4 separate regions of the Homo sapiens genome follow, and regions 1, 2 and 4 are each linked to region 3. Evidence: promoter capture Hi-C in 16 types of primary human blood cells and fetal thymus (Javierre and others, 2016). All regions are on one chromosome and are shown on one strand. Each heading gives the region's core, a stretch centred on a gene start or on the middle of the fragment in contact. The rest is flanking DNA. Distances are from core to core; before and after follow the strand shown. Region 1 holds the start of KCTD18 (potassium channel tetramerization domain containing 18). Region 2 holds the start of NOP58 (NOP58 ribonucleoprotein). Region 3 holds the start of TRAK2 (trafficking kinesin protein 2). Region 4 overlaps BZW1-AS1 (BZW1 antisense RNA 1).

Region 1 (3,006 bases), core at 480-2,979, 940 kb after region 3:
CTTCCATCTCACACCTTTCCAATCCATTCTCATCTCAGTAGCTGCAGTGATTATTTTTTTTTAATAGTAAATCAATTGTGTCACTTCCCTGCTTAAAACCTTTCAATAGCTTCTCATTATGCTTACAGTCAAATTAAATTTCTACCATGGCCACACAATACTTTAGAGTCTGGGCTCTTGCCTCTCTCTTCAACCTCATCCCATCTCATCTTCCCCTTTGTCCTGATGCCCACCAAGGCTCAGACATACTAGTGGCCTTTCTCTTCCTACAAATTGCTGAGTCCTTTCCTGCCTGAGGGGCTTCCGACTTGCTCTCCCTTCTTCCTAAAATACCCTTCCTCCATCTCTGCAGAAGGTGGACTCATTCTGACTCCTAGCCCTCAACTTAAATGTCCACTCATTTCCTCGCACCTAGTTATCACTCTCTGTCACCACTTTGCTTAGTGTCTGTTTCTCCCACTTGAACAAGGGCAGGCAAACTATGGCCCATGGACCACCATTTGTTTTTGTCTGGCCCATGATCTAAGAATGGCTTGTACATATTTAAGTGTTTGAAAAAGCTGCATTTTTAAAAGAATATTTTTTGACACATGAAAATTATGTGAAATTGGAATTTCAGTGTCCATAAAGTTGGAACTAGCAATGCTCATTTGTTCAGGTTTTGCCTATGCCTTCTTTTAGACTACAACTGCTGAGTTGAGTAGTTGTGCATGGCCCACAAAGCCTAAAATATTTACAGAACAAGTTTTCTGCATGTTGTACTGGAAAGTAAGGTTGAACGCCCATTATTTGTCTCTTCCAGTCCTTTACTCTCAGTGCTTGCTCCATAGCTAGTGCTTAATAATTACAGGTTGAACAAACCTTCCCTCTCTCCTAAGACTGTTAATATCTAAGGGGATAGGTTGACTTACCTCTCTTTGGCTTATTCTCTTCTAAGAGCCAGTCAGGGAAATTTGGAACCAAATATTTTTGATTTTGGGGAAGCACCTTGAAAACAGGACTGTTATATTTCTCTTGAAATATCTAGCACAGTACCTTGCACAAGGTAAGATGGTGCTAGAAACTGGAAGAACTGTTTTAGGGTTATCGTTAACAGGAAATTAAGTAGTGCATGCAAAGCACTTAGCACAGTGTCAGGTGTACAAAAGTGTTGAATAAATGTTTGCTCTCGCCTCAATTTTCCTTGCTATAATGGGAAATAAATATCACCCTTTATATCACTGTCACACAGACTAAACAAGAATGCTGTGTGTGAAAAAGCTTTGTAAGCTGCAGACACTATCCAGATAGACTTATCCAAGTGCAATATATTAACACACGTTGGCACTGAGCAGCCCTGTTTGGAGGGATGGGCACTGACCTGGGGGTGAGAACACTTAACATCCTAATTCTTGCCACTTATTAAGTGACCTTGGACAATCGCAACTTCTGCGGCTGTTTCTTCTCTTCACCTGTAAAACCAGCCTCTGAACACACAAGACCGTCCCTTGGGGTTCAGCCCTGGCCTTCTCTACCGTGTGTTTCCCTTACCTCCGGGATGGAAGACCCACCCGACTCCGAGGCGGCCCACTGGGGCGAGACGAATCTGGGGGCGGGGCGTGGCGTGGCGTGGCGTGCCCGGGACGTGGCCTCCCTCCCTCCCTGAGCCGCTGCCTCAGAGCCGGGCCGCACGGGGGCGCCGCTGGGGCCGCTCTGCTCCCGAGTTGCCGAGCAGCTGAGAAGGCGTTCACTTCCGCGTCCGCCCCGCGGCGTCCGGCGGCCGCGCCGAGGGTCTGGCGGGCCGCAGGTCAGTCTGGGAAGCTGCCGACCCGCCCCACCCCCCCGGTGCGGAAGAGCCGGGCGCGGGATGGGCCGCGGGCCCGGAAGGCGGCGGGGCGCCCTGAGGAAGGGCACGGGCCGCGCTGGTAACGCGCGCGCCCCGGGCTGCAGGCTCGGGCTTCGGGCCGATTTGGGGTCTCCAGGCCGCGGAAGACCGTGGCGGGGCTTTCTGGCTCCCCAGCTCCTCCCGGCTCTTCCCGCTTCGGAAGAGGAGTGTGAGCCCCTTGAGCGATGTTTTTCAAAGTGGGGTTCGCGGGCAGATCCCGACCCCTCCTCAGACTTTCTGAGGAACTGTGTGCTGTGGCCGGAGTGTCTTCGTTTTCCCAAGCGTCCCTGATGGTTTTGATGCAGGTGATCATAGGAATGCACTCTGGGGGACATTGTCCCCGAGGGCTGGACACTTTCCACATAGCAGGGAGCCTAACTGGGTGCTTTTGAGGATGGGGCCTGCGGAGTGCCCCCCTGGTGTGGCCTTGGAATGATGATGTTCCTATCCTTAGGAGAGACTGCCTGGGGTTGGGGTAGGAGGAGTAGCTCTTAAATCCTCGGGATCGGGGTGCTGCTGTGTTATCGTAGCCAAGTCTTGAGATGGACAGATGCTTAGAGAGTGAAAGGGCTGGGTCAGGATCCATAGGGGTGAAACAGTGCTGGAGGAGGCGGTGTGGGGTGAAGCAGGAAGAACTTGGGGTTCGTCCTGCCGTTCTGGATTGGGGCTGGCTCCACAACCTACTAGCAGTCAGTCCTTGTGTGGCCCCTGTACACATCACTCTTTTTTTTTACCCCAATGGCCTCATCTGTCAACAGGGACAGTAATTCCCATCCAATAGAGTTTTTGTGTGAATTAGGTAAAGTGTGTCAAGTGTCTCTTACAATGGCTGGCACATAATAAGCATTCAGTAAATGGGAGTTATTAAGAGTGACACAGGCCCTGGCTTCCTTGGCCTACAGACCAAAAAGTAGGGATTAAACAAGTGGGGTAAAAAGTGGACAGACACACAGTATATTTGTAGAATTGTGCAAGGATTCTAACTTGGGGGGCAGAAGGATACGTGGGACGGTCATGCAAGAAATTAGGTTTGCTGAAGGCCTTGAAGAATAGATAGGATTCCAGGGAGCCAGTAATGAGGCAGAGGGAACAAGTTCCATCCCATGCCTCAGAGGTGGCTCTCACACATGGATCTTTGGAGT
Region 2 (3,233 bases), core at 138-2,637, 810 kb before region 3:
CACCGCACAAGAAAAGGCACTCAATCTCACTCATTCTTCCTAACATCTCAACAGCATCTTGCGATACGAATGTCTTACCATTCAACCATTTCAGTGCTGACGAACTTGTCAAACTTTCCCCACGAAAACAACCAAACCTCAAACTGACATCACCAGCCCAGATGTTTTCCCCTAAGCTTCAAATCTGAAATACTGAACTGCCCGATCTACACAACTGCATTATCAGGTCTAATAGACAACGCAAGCTTCGCACAGCCCAAACCGGAAATCTTTAGTCCTTCCCCAAGAAACTTTCTTAACATCTTATTTAAACCAAAACCCCACATTCAATCTATTAGCCAGTCCTTCCTGTTCTACCTTCACAATTTCTATCGATATTTGTTTCTCTCCATACCAGGCAATTTCATCTTGTCCAAATGAATGCAAAAGTATTCTTGCTGCCGTTCTTATCTCCTCGAGTCTAATCTCCACACAGCAGAGTAACCGTATTAAGACAAATTAGCAGGTCATTCCTCTGCTTAAATCCTTTCGATTGGCCGAGCACGGTGGCTCACGCCTGTAATCCCAGCACTTTGGGAGGCCGAGGCAGGTGGATCGCTTGAGGTCAGGAGTTCAAGACCAGCCTGGCCAACATGGTGAAACCCCGTCTCTACTAAAAGCAAACAAACAAACAAAAACAACTAGCCAGGCGTGGTGGTGGATGGAGGCCTGTAATCCCAGCTACTCGGGAGGCCAAGGCAGGAGAATCGCTTGAACCCGGGAGACGGAGGTTGCAGTGAGCCAAGATTGCGCCACTGCACTCCAGCATGGGCAACAAGAGCGAAACTCCATCTCAAAAAAAAAAAAAATCTTTCGATCATTCCTCAAAACATCTAGAATAAAGTCCGAATTCCCTATAATCTGTTAAATTCTAACACGCCTCCTGCCCACCCCTTCAACGGGAGGAAATAAAATCCTCTAATGCAGAACGGGTCTCCCCAAACGGCGGGGCCACGTGTTACACGTAACATGGCTCTCAGGTGTAAAGGCCTTCTCCCTCCTCCCAGAGCCCGGGCTATAACAGGCACCCACGCTACTCTGAGTAGTTCCGTGCTTAAGTCTTTCCCTCTCCTCGTCTGTCCAGCATCCGCCTTCCCCCTTTAACGGCTCGCTCTCCCACCTACCTTAAAGATGGCGTAACCCACAGACGTTTCAAACAGCACCAACATGGTGAGGCCGGGTCAGGGCGCCGCACGGCCTGCCAGAAGCTGTAGAGTCAGTTCAAAAACACCGACTACGCGGCCTCAAAAGGCCTCCTAGGCCGCGGCGGGCAAAGCACAAATGCGCTCGCCGTCCCGCAAAGAATCAGAACACGCTGCCTAAACCCTCCACGCTGTACTGGAACTAGGACGCACGAACGCGCTACTCCTTCTCTGAGGATTCTGGGATAGCAACGTCACTTCCGACAGAAGACTGCCGCAGAGATTGCCGTCACTTCCAGAATGTTCCCGCCACAGCGGGCTGGGGCGGGCCGAGAAAGTTTGTATCGCGGGATCTAGGGCCTGAACGGAGCCTTTGCGCCTTTTTTTCTTTTTTCTTTTTTTCTTTTTTGGAGACGGAGTCTCGCTCTGTAACCCAGGCTGGAGTGCAGTGGTGTGATCTCGGCTTACTGCAACCTCCGCCTCCCGGGTTCAAGAAATTCTCCTAGCCGGGCGCAGTGGCTCACGCCTGTAATCCCAGCACTTTGGGAGGCCGAGGCGGGCGGATCACAAGGTCAGGAGATCGATCGAGACCATCCTGGCTAACACGGTGAAACTCCGTCTCTACTAAAAATACAAAAAATTAGCCGGGTGTGGTTGCAGGCGCCTGTAGTCCCAGCTACTCGGGAGGCTGAGGCAGGAGAATGGCCTGAACCCAGGGGGCGGAGCTTGCAGTGAACCAAGATCCTGCCACTGCACTCCAGCCTGGGCGACAGAGCGAGACTCCGTCTCAAAAAAAAAAAAAAAAAAAGAAATTCTCCTGCCTCAGCCTCCCCAGTAGCTGGGACTAGAGGCACACACCACCACGCCCAGCTAATTTTTGTATTTTTAGTAGAGATGGGGTTTCAGCATGTTGGCCAGGATAGTCTCGATCTCTTGACCTCGTGATACGCCCGCCTCGGCCTCCCAAAGTGCTGGGATTACAGGCGTGACCCACTAGGCCCGGCCTTTTTTTTTTTTTTTTTTTTTTTTTTTTTTTTTTTTGAGACAGTCTGGCTGTTGCCCAAGCTGGAGTGCAGTGGCACTATCACGGCTCACTGCAACCTCCAACTCCCAGGCTCAAGCGATCCTCCCACTTCACCCTCCGGAGCAGCTGGGACTACAGGCCTGTGCCACCACACCCAGCTAATTTTTTGTAGAGACAGGGTTTCACGATGTTGCCCAGGCTGGTCTCGGACTCTTGACCTCAAGGGATCCTCCCACCTCGGCCTCCCAAAGTGCTGGGATTACAGGCGTGAGCCACCGCGCCCCGCCACCGCTAGAGATTTAAAGGGGAAAAACTTCACGATATTATTTTGTTAACCCTCTATGAATTATATGTTCACTTTGAGAGAAACGAGGAGCTGTTTCGGTGCCAGTCTGCCTCAGGCATCTAGAATTTGAAATGCCAGCTAGTGCCATTAGACTTTATCCCCTTTCAAGCCCTGCCTTGAGGCGAAGGCCTCAGAATGACACCATTACTGTCACTATATTTGTGAGCATTCCTGGCCGTTCCCTTCTGTCTGGCCAAATGAATTATTAGCACAGTTTTCTTTCAATAAGCCTCTCCTATTTTTGCTGCATTTGTTAAAATGACCCCAGGGTATGAATTTAGAATGTCTTTTTTTTTTTCTTTTTCTTCTTTGTTTTTTTTGAGACGGAGTTTCACTCTTGTTGCCTAGGCTGGAGTGCAGTGGTATGATCTCTGCTTACTGCAACCTCTGCCTCCCGGGTTCAAGCAATTCTCCTGCCTCAGCCTCCCGAGTAGCTGGGATTACAGGCATGTACCACCACGCCTGGCTAATTTTGTATTTTTAGTAGAGATGGGGTTCCTCCATGATGGTCAGGCTTGTCTCGAACTCCTGACCTCAGGTGATCCACCCACCTCGGCTTCCCAAAGTGCTGGGATTACAGGCATGAGCCACTGTGCGGGGCTGAATTTAGACTGTCTTCTTGATTTAGTGTTACTTGCTTTTCTGGAAGCCTTTCAGTCTCAGGGACTGGGATTAAATACCC
Region 3 (2,925 bases), core at 210-2,709:
TGCAGTCCCTTACACTTGTATCCAAAACGCTAATTACGATAAAGCTTTATAAGTAATTTCAGTTTGTTCCATAATAGAATGGTTCATGTGAAGACTTTGATCTGAAAGATTAACACTTTCTGTAGAAACCAAAGGGCGCATCTTCTAGAACACGGGTTTTGAGTTAATTTAGGCATTCAACAGAGGCCACTGTTACAGGGAATGCAAAAATGACCCGATGTAACTCTTTGTTGAGCTTTAAAATTACTGTAATTTTCAAAGTGATCTTGGGAACCCATAAAATCTTAACAAAGATCATAGCGACGCACAGTTCAGGAGAATTTTCCAAGCTTAGTGACTCATGCGTTCAACAAATCTTTACTGAGCGCCTACTGGGTGCCAGGCACCGTGCTAAGCAGGCGCCGTGTTACACATCCGTATCAAGTTTTGGGGAAAAGGTACTTGACAAAGACCCAGCAGGGAAAAACACAGCGTTGAATTGAAAAACCGAAGACAAAACGACACTCGAGTATTTAATTTTGTAAAAGGTTCCTTCCTAGTCCTGCTATGGGGGACTTTGCAGCGAACTTGCAGAAGGCGGCAGATAGAGCTGGGGTCTGAGGGTGTCTTCGATATGGCAACTCCCCAAGCCCGAGAGCGCGGCCAAAGGTGAGGGGTGCGGGGAGAGGGCGCCCGGGCGGCCTGGGCCCCGCGCACCTGGCACGGCCGGCACGGCCAACCCGGCAGGCACCACTGGGCGGGCTGCGAACCCGCGGCCCGGGCCCCGCTGAGCCCGAGCTGCACTGGCGCAGTGGCTGCTCGCCACCTCGGGCCGCATTCTTGCCACGGCTCCCGCCAGCCGCCGGTGCTCGGGCTGGAGGTGGGCTAGCGCGTTCTGGCCTCTGGCTTCCCGGGCGTGCGCGGACCAAGGCTCACTCCCTCACACGTCCCCCACCGGCCCCGACACCTTCCCTTCCCGGGCCTGCCTCCCGTCTTTACCCTAGCGGCGACCACGGCCAGCGACTCTCTTCAGGCTGCCAGCGGTGCGGACAGGGGCGGGCGCCAGAGCCCTGCTCGCGGAGGGGCGAGGCGAGCGCTCTAGGCCCGCTCCCGGCGCGGGGCGCGGGAGGGCGGCGAGGCCGCGACCGGGGCCGTGGGCTTGGAACTCTGCACCAGTCCCAGGCTACCCGCTGGGAACGCATTCGCCCCACCCGCGCCGGGGTCGCGGCCCCGCCTCCCTCCCCGGGGCTGGGCAGCGAGAAGGCGGGGCCTTCGAGCTTGAGGCGGGGCGGGCAGGAAACTACAATTCCCAGCAGGTCTTGCGCTGGGGCCGTGGAGGCCGCTGGGAGAGTGGCTCTCCTTTGGCTTCCCCAATTGTGTGGGGGCTGCCATTGACCCGGTGTCGCCGCAGAACCGAGGTCGCCGAGTGATGATGTTGTGAAGTCGCCCGCCTGTCCCTGCCACGCCCGGGCGGTTGCTGGCAGTGGGAGCAGCGGCAGCAGCTTCGGCTGCTGCTTTCAGGCTGCCGCTGCATTAGGGGCTTCCTGAGGAAGCGCGGGCGGACGACAGAGGATGCCGAACCACTCCAGTGAGTAAGCTGTCCGCGCAGAACCCGAACTTGCCCTTGACAACTTCCCCGGAAAGCGGAGGGACCTCCTCGTCCCAAGGTCCTCCGGTACCCGGAGGTCACGCGCGGACGTCGGAGCCGGAGGCTGGGTGCTGGAGGGCTGGGTCCGGGTCCCGCGGTGAGGCGTGGGTTGTTTCCTAAGTGTGGGTGCAAAGTAATGGGCGCTAGGCGCTGGCGTCGGTATTCAGCCCAGCTGCACATCTGAGGCTTGGCAGCTTCTCATAGCGCCTTATCCTCTGCCATACAGCATCCATCTGGAGCCCTGTCTTTTAGGATGAGTGGCTTTAGGGTCGGGCATTAAACCTTAAGCTTCAGTCGCCATCTGTGATGTAAGTGGGAGGAGAGGGTATTGGAAAGAGCTCTTTCTGGGTCAAATAGAGTTGGGCTTTTCTTGCAATTGATTTTGAGCCAGATGCCACATATCTTGAAAAAGAAAAACGGCTGACTTTAGTTTGAAGCGTAAATAATAGATATTCGCACATGTCCTTTTTAGTAGCAGCCCAAAAATTGAATTTCAACTTAAAAAAAAATCTGCGTCATAATAATAGGGATGTTACTTGCTCTTGCTCATGCACCTTTTGCTTAGACCTGCTGTTTCTACGTCAGAAAAAAAAAAAAAAAAGGTAACTTCACAGGATATTCATCAAGTTGATGGAATGGACCATAGGAACAAAAGGAACACTTTCAGTTCTTGGTCTCCGTAAATCTTCCCGACCTTTAGATCTTTGCTGTTGACTTGGAAGTCTGAGGTACAGTAGTCTCCAAATAGCAGGTTAATGGTGGTGACATGACACTTAAAAACAAATTGTGAAGGACATTTGGAGGTGAGAAAGGTCAGGGATGAAGACATTTTATCATCCTAGCAGTTATTCCAACTTTCTTTTCTTTTTTTTTTTTAAGACAGAGTCTCGCTCTGTCGCCAGGCTGGAGTGCAGTGGGGTGATCTCGGCTCACTGCAACCTCCGCCTCCCGGATTCAAGCGATTCTCCTGCCTCAGCCTGCAGAGTAGCTGGGACTACAGGCGCGCACCACCACGCCCAGCTAATTTTTGTGTTTTTAGTAGAGATGGGGTTTCACCATGTTGGCCAGGATGGTCTCGATCTCTTGACCTCATGATCCACCCGCTTTGGCCTCCCAAAGTGCTGGGATTACAGACGTGAGCCGCCACACCCAGCTCCAGTTTTCTATTTTTAAAATTAAGTAATGTCCAGCAAGTCTCAGACATTTAGCAAGCACATACCATGTGAAAGACAGTGTTTTGTTATCTTACACACTTATTCATATGATGGAAGAGGTTTGTTAGAAAGAACCAACATTTG
Region 4 (3,033 bases), core at 355-2,854, 650 kb after region 3:
AACATCTCTGTGTTGGAAAATTATCTCCAATGCATAACGGTTTCCTTGGCATATTTAGATGGCCATCTTTCTTTGATGTCTTTTTTAAAACCTACATTTCATTTTTTGGGAGCCTCAGTGCGATGGAATTTTTTTTTTTTTTTTTTTGAGACGGAGTCTCTCTCTGTTGCCCAGGCTGGAGTGCAGTGGTGCGATCTTCACTCACTGCAACCTCCGCCTCCCGGGTGCAAGCGATTCTCCTGCCTCAGCCTCCTGAGTAGCTGGGATTACAGGTGCGTGCCACCACCCCTGGCTAATTTTTGTATTTTTAGTAGAGACGGGGTTTCACCATGTTGGCCAGGCTGGTCTCAAACTCCTGACTTCAAGTGATCCGCCGGCCTCAGCCTCCCAAAGTGCTGGGATTACAGGTGTGAGCTGCCGCGCCCAGCTGATGGAAAGTTTTTATTTAAGATGAAAAAGCAACTAAACTAAATAGAACTTAATCACTGCCTTATTGCTATTATTAGTAGTACTACTGCTATTACTTGGTATGTACTACTATTAGTAGTAATAGAGTGGTCACAGTAGACCTTAAATTTATAGAGGATGTTACTGTTTACAAAATATTTTCACATGCATTTTATAATTCTTCACAGAAACTTTGTGAGAAAGTAAGGCTGCCTTGCTTTCAAAGCAAGCTAACTATAGATAGAATTGATGATTATTAGTCTTCCAGAACAAGGCCATGGACTACCATTAAGTAAACTTAATGTCAATTTATCTGATAAGAAAAAGTGGAACCTTTTTTCTAATGATACATTTCAGGTCCTACTCTTAAAAAGCAGTCTTGGAAGATTTCCCAGATCTTTCTGGGATAAAATTAGTTTTCTTTAAAAAAGCAGTTTCATTTTCCAGAACTTAACCAGTATAGAAGGCTTTAGCATCAGAGAACTTTATACAATAAGGCTTGCCCAGCACAGAGATCCTTAGCACTAGGTGACTAGTTATAGTAAGTGCTGAAATGAAATTCTCTGTTAGTTCTCTATACCTGTGCTTTGAATTCAACTCACATTTTTCAATACCTAAATGCCACGAAGAACTTTCAGAACCTAAGCGTGTTAGGCCGTTCTTGTGTTTCTATAAAGAAATACCTGAGGCTGGTGCGGTGGCTCAGGCCTGTAATCCCAGCACTTCGGGAGGCAAAGGCAGGCGGATCATGAGGTCAGGAGATGGAGACCATCCTGGCTAACACGGTGAAACCCTGTCTCTATTGAAAATACAAAAAATTAGCCAGGCGTGGTGACACGCACCTATATTTCCAGCTACTGGGGAGGCTGAGGCAGAAGAATCGCTTGAATCCAGGAGGTAGAGGTTGCAGTGAGCTGAGATCACGCCACTGCACTCCAGCCTGGGCAACAGAGTGAGACTCTGTTTCAGAAAAAAAAAAGAAGAAGAAGAAGAAATACCTGAGGCTGCGTAATTTATAAAGAAAAGAGGTTTAATTGGCTTATGGTTCTGCAGGCTGTGCCAGTGTGGCACGAGCATTTGCTTTCAGGTGAGGGCTTTGGGAAATTTACAATCATGGCAGAAAGTGAAGTGGGAGCAGGGACATCACATAGTGAGAGTGGGAGCAAGTGTGAGTGAGGTGGGAGGTGCCACACACTTTTAAACAACCAGATCTCACGGGAATTCAGAGTGAGAACTTACTTATTACCAAAGTGTTGGTGCTAAAGCACTCATGAGGGATCCGCCTCCACGATCCAATCACCTCCCACCAACATTGGGAAATACATTCAACATGAGATTTGGGAGGCGAGAAACATCCAAACCGTATCACCAGGTAAAAAGGGCTATAAAATACCATTAAGAACATTGGGGTTTCATGACTTCAGAAATTTTAAGAATTTCTTGCCTAGGAAGAACAATGTACAAGCAACAGATTTAATTGCCTTTGAGAAACGCTTTTGGTGAGAACTCTTTAGGAAGGACTCTGCTTTTCCTTATGTGCCTGGTGTGCTGTAATGGAGGCCCAAAGATAGTCATGGTGCTTGTGACATGCACTGTCCAGTGAGGGACATGGTACAATACCACCACGAATGTATCATACAAGGTGCTATTAGAATATGGAAAAGGGAGTGACCAACTCCACAGGGCTGAGAAGGAAGGGGTTCCCAAAAGATTTGGAATAGGAAGCATTTGAGGTAGGTCTTGGCAGAAGAGAAGAGGTTGGTCAGATGGGGAAGAGGGAGGTAGGAGCAGCATGTGGAGCAGCCTGAAATGTAGCTGTCACATTCTAGAGCAGGGAGCAGCTTGCTGTGTGTGGTGTAGGGTGTATGTGTATCTGTGTATGTGTATGTTGGGACAGGGATGGCAAAGATGAAGAGGGGGTTAGCTTGAGAAGGGCTAAGAGCCCATCCTAAGGAGTTTGGTCTTCACCTATGTTCTGCTTTCTATGTGGTAATTCACTTTAAAATGCTTAAGAAATTTAGTGTAAACTATATGATATATTTAAACATAAGGTAACTTTTTTCTACACCCTAGGTAGCATCAACTTGCACTCTAGGTGTAGTTAATTAGCATTTGATGAATCCAAATCATGAATCCACACTTCAAAATTGGTTACCTACACATTTCAACTAATTTTCCAAGAGTCCATTTTAAGGTTTTGTTCCTTGGTATAGTGGATGTTAGAAATAAGATACGTGGTTGGTTAGAGACTTTACACTTGCTCTATGAACCTCATCCGAGGAAGGTGGAGGAATCCAGCAAGCGATGCTGGCAGCAGCCTTCAGGTGTGGATTGCTATTGGTTCTCAGTACTCTCCTCCCAGAGGGCTAGATGATTCTGCCGTCAGTCTGTTGTGTCCATTCAGAGTGAATCTGTCATGTGAGATGTTTGACTTATCTCTAACTTTTAGTGGGGGCTGTGGATATTTATGAAGAGGACCTGCCAATTGCTGTGTTCATCAATTGCCTAATTGCCTGAGATCACTGTGTGACAATCTGGTCAGTAGTGGAGACCACTAGAGATTATCTATATGATACCAGCAGACTG

What was found. Contacts are between HindIII fragments. The CHiCAGO score rates a contact against its expected background, and 5 or more counts as called.
Region 1: the fragment with the promoter of KCTD18 here is called in contact with the fragment with the promoter of TRAK2 in region 3 in 7 of 17 cell types (monocytes, fetal thymus, non-activated CD4 T cells and 4 more); the score reaches 11.6 in monocytes.
Region 2: a contact is called between the fragment with the promoter of NOP58 here and the fragment with the promoter of TRAK2 in region 3, in 1 of 17 cell types (fetal thymus). The highest score is 7.0, in fetal thymus.
Region 4: a contact is called between a fragment that was not itself captured here and the fragment with the promoter of TRAK2 in region 3, in 1 of 17 cell types (neutrophils). The highest score is 9.7, in neutrophils.

The regions. Positions count from the first base shown.
Region 1 is chr2:200,508,791-200,511,796 of GRCh38, reverse strand. KCTD18 (potassium channel tetramerization domain containing 18) reads left to right here and starts at 1,729. Exons shown (of 7, transcript NM_152387.4): 1 at 1,729-2,169. RefSeq lists a silencer at 1,497-1,956. The HindIII fragment of the contact is 2,465 bases long and covers 1,263-3,006 here.
Region 2 is chr2:202,263,917-202,267,149 of GRCh38, reverse strand. NOP58 (NOP58 ribonucleoprotein) reads right to left here and starts at 1,387. Exons shown (of 15, transcript NM_015934.5): 1 at 1,164-1,387. The coding sequence starts at 1,208. The HindIII fragment of the contact is 14,423 bases long and covers 248-3,233 here.
Region 3 is chr2:201,449,992-201,452,916 of GRCh38, reverse strand. It overlaps TRAK2 (trafficking kinesin protein 2), which reads left to right and starts at 1,459. Exons shown (of 16, transcript NM_015049.3): 1 at 1,459-1,567. It overlaps STRADB (STE20 related adaptor beta), which reads right to left and starts at 1,177. Exons shown (of 12, transcript NM_018571.6): 1 at 979-1,177. RefSeq lists a silencer at 607-1,286 and enhancers at 1,317-1,846, 1,250-2,104. The HindIII fragment of the contact is 1,586 bases long and covers 332-1,917 here.
Region 4 is chr2:200,804,315-200,807,347 of GRCh38, reverse strand. The region is part of intron 1 of BZW1-AS1 (BZW1 antisense RNA 1); the gene reads left to right. Among named protein-coding and RNA genes, the nearest start is that of BZW1, 6.1 kb to the left of the region's middle. The HindIII fragment of the contact is 4,582 bases long and covers 1-3,033 here.